2 separate regions of the Homo sapiens genome follow, and region 1 is linked to region 2. The links are contacts of gene promoters, found by promoter capture Hi-C in blood cells and fetal thymus (Javierre and others, 2016). All regions are on one chromosome and are shown on one strand. Each heading gives the region's core, a stretch centred on a gene start or on the middle of the fragment in contact. The rest is flanking DNA. Distances are from core to core; before and after follow the strand shown.

Region 1 (3,102 bases), core at 589-3,088, 260 kb before region 2:
AATTGTTGATAGGCATGTTGGTTGTATTAATGCCATCTCCGTTACTTAAATTGCTTACATTAGTTTTAAAGTTGTATGTTTTTAAAAGTGAAATGCTTGCATTTCCATGCAGAAGACACTGACCACACTAAAACCATTTGACTCATGGGAGGGCAACGGAGTGGAAACTGGAAGAATTTTGCACCAGCACTTAGGAACCTGGGTGATGATTCCTATTTTACCATTCATTGTTTTCATGCACTGGGAAAACTCTCTTCAGCTCCTCTGTTCAAGTATAATATTGAAATTATGTGTATGGAACATCAGGGTTGTCCAAAGTCCATCCCAGCTCTCAAATTGAGAATGCCATGACTTTTCTGGTATGAATTGTATTTTTAATATATGTCTTAATATCAAACATAGACATGTGTAACTTGGCCCCTTAAACTAGGGTAGGGGTTTCTCTAGATATACCTCATCCTTCTTCCTTCTTTCATGTCTATTTAATGCAATAAAGTGACAAGATCCTTTCTAGTTTCTATTTCCCTGGTCTTAGAGTCTGATCTTATGGTGATATTGGTCTCTTCTAAATCCAAAACCCACCACTCTTTGACACGTTGAAAAGTATCCATTGTTACTCCTCTCCCATTTAGGAATACTTCAGTGGGAAAGTTTGAGGGGAATAGATCTAAGGAAATCTGAGAGTGTCTCTTCTTTGAAAAACAAAAGGACTTACATAATACAAAATATACATATCCATTTTGCTCAACAATATAGATAACTTGCATTATAAGCTTATGTCTGAGTACATATTTTTAAGTCCTTGGAGTTCTCTCTGCCATTGAGCTTTTTACTGCCTGCTCACTTGTGCTGTTCATCTCTTTGATATCTTCCCCAGCACACCATCTCAGAGCCTTATAAGGCTACCCAGATCCTGACAAGAGATTAAATGTTTCTTATGCAATATTTTTCATCTTTGTCAAAGCAATTATCTTTAGTTTAGGAAAAGTGCAAACCAAGTTTTTCCATATGCTATCAGCAAGATCAATTAACATTATTTATATAATGTATGATTTACTTCAGTTTAATTTTGTGAAAATGAAACTGTCAAGGATTTCAAATTTTTCTCTATCTGTAATAATAAAAAAGAAAATTATTTATCTTTGTGCATGCACAGAGTTTCATACACAATATAATTCTTAGAACAAACAAAAAAATTATCCTGAGATAGAGAGATAGTTCCTGAAGGGAACAGAATAGCAAGATAAATATCACCAGGAATTTGGCCTTTCCCTCACTGTCTAATTTCTGGCATACAATAACTTTCTCTAAAAATGGCATGCAAGCTTTCTCTAAAAAAAAGTTTTGTTTACAGAAGGCCAGAATAGGTCTGGCAATTGTTTCTCCTTCATATCAATGAAGCTTCGGTCACAGAATTTACATGGTCTGTTCTTTGTTTGGAGAACAACGCTGGCACACTAGGTGTGGAGACGAAAGGAGAGAGGATACCAGAGAACAGCGCCAGTTTCCCTCTGAGTCAGACACTGAAGGGCTGTGGGAAAGGGAGCTGGTCTCGAGGGCCTTCCGATCTGACCACTTTTCCAAGCCACTCCTTTATCCTGCAGGAAGGAGGAGGCTGAGCTTTCTTGCCACCAGAGAAGATCAATCAGGATCCCTTTAAGGCAGGGAGAGCCACATATCCTAGTCTTCCAAAGACACAGGATGAATTTCAAAGGAACAGAAATGGCAAGTCACCAAAAAATAGATCCATATGTTGTTGTTGTTGTTTTTTAAAGTGAAAATAGCTTGTTTTTTTTTTTAGTAGAAAAACTACCACATGCTTATTATGAAAAATTCAGACAACACATAAAAAGACAAAGAGTAGAGCCAAAATTTGAACCCAGGCAGCCAAGCTCCAGAGTTTAAGGTCTGTACTTTGTAGTAGTTAGTTACTACTGCCCCTTGGGTCTTCCCAGAATTAAACAAGAGCTCCAAGCTGCTATTTGAATCACAGTTTGGTGAAAGGGAGTGAATTTTTTAGAAGCTGGAGACCCGGCACCAAAGAACAGACTTATAAAAAGGGTTATAATAGTAATGACTCACATGCTTATCAGGCGAAAGGCTGTTAGCCAAATAATATGTATGTGTATGTGCATACACTGTGTATGTGCACATACACAGTGTGTGTATAAGAAATCTCATTTAATCCTCACAATAATCTGTCAGTTACAATTTACTCGCATCAATCTAGATGTGGAAGCTGCAGCTCAGAGTTTTAAACAATTTTCTAGAATCACAAAGCTTATACTCTGTAATAACGAAGTTAGGACTACAATCTGTCTGACCAGATTCCCAGCTCTCGACATGAATTTGTTGAGCGTCAAAAGTATGCAGGTATTGTTAAAAAGAAAATAAATATAGAAAGGAAAGGAAAAGTCACAGATTATTTCCCCTACAATGTGCAATAATGACTGAACACCAGGACACCTGCGTTTCAATCTTAAGTTAGCCATGAATGAACTACACGGTGATGGGCAAATCACTCAGTGTTTGTACTTTGGTTTCCCGTCAAAATTGGCAGAGTGTGATAGGTTAGTGGTTCTAATTTTTGGTGATCATAAACCATTTCCATGAATTCAATGAACTCTCCCTCCAGAAAAATGTATAAATGAACACAAGACGTAAAACTGCATTCAATTCAGTAATGACTTCCTAGTATATATTTATTGTCAGGCCTTCCCACTGAAATGAAATATGAATGAGGGCAAAGGACTCTGTGTTTTCCTGTCTATATCCCCAGCTACTAGAGCATTACTTGGAACATCATAAGCTCTGGAAAACTATCAACTGAATGAATACATAGATGAGGGCTCCTCATCTCCTTGAAGTGGACCCATACTCGACCCAGTTAAAAAACCCATGGATTGAATTATTTATGAGACCCTTTTTGGTTCTGAAAGACCTAAGCTTCAACCAAATGAAACAGCCAAACACTCTACTTCTTTTGACCAGTAATATTGGTAATAACATGTGCTTCAACCTAATATGTTAACTTGCAATTTTACCAACTTGTCTAGTAGTGAGCATGCACACACGCACTATCATACATGGCACTAGTTTTTT
Region 2 (2,991 bases), core at 48-2,547:
TATAATTTGGGTTCAAAGGGTATTAGTCATAAGCCATCAGCAGCAACATCTGATGCATACCAATTTAATACTTTAACAATGTGACACATCAGCCCTATCTATAGTAAAGAGAAGAGCTTGATTTTTATGAATTATTAAGTCCTTCCCACCTTGAGCCACTTTGCTTCCTAGAGGCAGTATCTCAGGCATCCCATTCAGCTCATAGTAGCATTCCATGAAGATCTGGAATGATGACAATAATGATGATTATTAGACTCATAACTCCTTAAGCTTGATTTATGAAAACAGTTCGTTCCTTCACAAAAGTAGTCACTGGAAGAATTCTGGTTTCAGCAATGTGCTGGAAATTTGTGGCCAAACTTTTGGATAAAACATAAGATTCAGACAAGAAAAATTAATATCCTATTTCTTAGGTTTTTAACTAAAAATCTCGGATATAGAATGTTCTCTTTCCAGATGTGAGACTGAAATAATGGAAGAAAATGGTCACAGTCTATGTCATGGTGTAATGTAGACAGGGAGAGTCACAAGTGCATGTATGGGCTCTCAGCCTTTTCTCTGGCCTTGAAGTTAATCTCCTAAACTCAGTCATTAAATCAGCTCTTAATTATCTCGGAGGAGAGGAAGTAATGATGATTTCTCTCTCTCTGTCTCTCTGTCACACACACACACACACACACAGCTCTTGCAGCAGGTATTGCTTAAATATCACCTTGGATAATCATAACTTGTGAGCAGATCTTCTTTCCTGATGAGTTAGTTTCTAACCTGGTCATTCTGCGCTTATTTTTGTCCCTTTCTCCACCCACTTAGGAAAAACAGAGAAAGGGACGCACCGCGCAGCCCCTAGGCACTGTGGTTTAGGGCTAGTGCCCTCGGCACCCGCTGCCAGGAGCCGGGCGCTGCCAAGGGCTGCGGAGGGGCCACGTTCTCCCGGGGACTGGGGCATCTCCTGCGTGCTGGCGACAGGCTGCGGGGGCGGAGTGGTGCCAGGGCGGGCGCTCGCCCGTCGGATATGCCCACCCGTCCCGTCCAGGGCAGGAAAGCCTGCCAGGGCGCCATCCCCATCCCCACCGCCTCCAGGCTGCCGGGGCTGGGCCGCTGTACGGGAGCCAAGGTGCGGTGCCCCGCGTGTGGACGAGCCGAGGTGCAGCCCGCGGGGCCGCAGGGCCGGGGTGGGGCGGGGCGCGGCCGGAGCAGATCCGGTGTTTGCGGAATCAGGAGGGGCGGGCTGGGGCGGGCCCTCGGCGCTGCAGGAGCTGCCCAGAAACTTTTCCCTGCTCTCACCGGGCGGGGGAGAGAAGCCCTCTGGACAGCTTCTAGAGTGTGCAGGTTCTCGTATCCCTCGGCCAAGGGTATCCTCTGCAAACCTCTGCAAACCCAGCGCAACTACGGTCCCCCGGTCAGACCCAGGATGGGGCCAGAACGGACAGGGGCCGCGCCGCTGCCGCTGCTGCTGGTGTTAGCGCTCAGTCAAGGTAAGCGGGGATTTCGCTCTGCATCGGCTGCAGGAGGGACCCGCGCGGCTTCCTGGGGCTCGCTGGAGGGATTGGGCGGAACTAGGGAGCGAGCTCCGTGTGTTCCCTCGGATTCCACGTGGACTCGGGCTCCCAGCCACCAGGACCTGCTTGGAAAGAGATACTTCTTCGTTCCCTTCCTGCTATCCCAGGCCTTGCGTCCCCATTAGGCGCGTCTCGCCCTGTCTGTTAAGCACCCTCCAAAGTCATCTCAGTGAGTGCTTTGTTTTAGGTACACACACGCACACACACACACACACACACAGACAGACACGCACGCACTCAAGCATGGACAGTGTGGGGATCCGCGGGTGTCCTGGAGACCGCGAGTCCTGCAGCCCAACTTCCCCTGGCTCAGACAGGTGCCGCGCCTGCCAGAGACCAGGGAAATCCGGAATCCATTGCTGATGGCGGCCTGCAGCTCCCCAGCGCGGTGCTTGCTGGCTTTGCAGAAGCCTGCGAGCCCCAAAATGCTTATTTTTCAACCCAAGGATGTGAATAATGCCTCTATTTCTTACTTGAGGACGAAGCGCTGTGTTTCTTCCCGGGGGGACTTGGAATAAACCAAGCGCCACTTAAATACTTGGCAGAGGGGAATTCTTCCTTCCCTTCTGCCTTCCTCTTATTGTTGTAACATTGTCTATTCGACGAATGTAAACTTAGGCTAGGAAAAGTTCTTTTCACTTCTGGATCCTAGATGCCGCAATGAGAGAATAAGCCGGAGCAGCCGCTCTAACTGTAGTGCTGTGGCAGTGGGGCCCGCCCACCTCCTGAGTTCTTTTACACTAAGAGGAGGAAATAAGGCTGGGGTGGAGAGCTTTTGTGGGACCATCGCCTGAGTACTTTTTCCCTGACCATTAGGCAGAGCTAGAGTGTGGTCAAATTTAAGAATTTTAGTTTATTTGGAGGGAGAAGGAGACACGTTTGTATAATGTAGTTTGAACAGCGATCAAAACAAAACAAAAAAGTTGTCTCTGATTTTAAAGTGTGTGTGTGGTTTTTTTTTTTTTTTTTTACAAAGAAGATAAATATTTCCTAAGCTGTCCTCCTTTGAGACTGACATTCAGCCACTTGCTATTCTTTATTGTGGAGGAATGAATCCTAGTCCACGTCAACCTGGTGGCATTTTCTCCAGGTCAGAGATAAGAGAGAAATAGCACCACTGTCCCCAGCCCGAGCAGAGAATGGGCATCTTAGGTTTTCTGTCTCACCTGTATTGGGTGCTTCAGATACTTTCTCCGGGAACCAGATGAGTTGTTTTGAGGGGCCACCAACCCTAATCTACGGATTTCAGGTAAAGTTGTACTTGACATTGAAAATGAGTCTCTGGAATACAACTAGAGCTAATAGAAATATAAACCCAAGCTTTTCATCTCTCTGTAATTACCCAGTATTAAAATAAGCTGTGGAAACATAACATCATTTTCTTATCTTTGAAATGTTGAGGCTTGTTATGTAAAGAGCAGTGAGAAAT

The links. The method cuts DNA at HindIII sites, captures the fragments that hold promoters and counts their contacts. A CHiCAGO score of 5 or more calls a contact.
Region 1: a fragment that was not itself captured here is called in contact with the fragment with the promoter of ITGA2 in region 2 in 1 of 17 cell types (endothelial precursors); the score reaches 5.1 in endothelial precursors.

Annotation. Positions count from the first base shown.
Region 1 is chr5:52,726,332-52,729,433 of GRCh38, forward strand. The region is part of intron 2 of PELO-AS1 (PELO antisense RNA 1); the gene reads right to left. Among named protein-coding and RNA genes, the nearest start is that of ITGA1, 60 kb to the right of the region's middle. The HindIII fragment of the contact is 879 bases long and covers 1,400-2,278 here.
Region 2 is chr5:52,988,055-52,991,045 of GRCh38, forward strand. It overlaps ITGA2 (integrin subunit alpha 2), which reads left to right and starts at 1,298. Exons shown (of 30, transcript NM_002203.4): 1 at 1,298-1,478. The coding sequence starts at 1,415. ITGA2-AS1 (ITGA2 antisense RNA 1) reads right to left here and starts at 2,232. Exons shown (of 4, transcript NR_186583.1): 1 at 2,036-2,232; 2 at 150-222. RefSeq lists an enhancer at 1-637 and a silencer at 1,102-1,251. The HindIII fragment of the contact is 2,612 bases long and covers 269-2,880 here.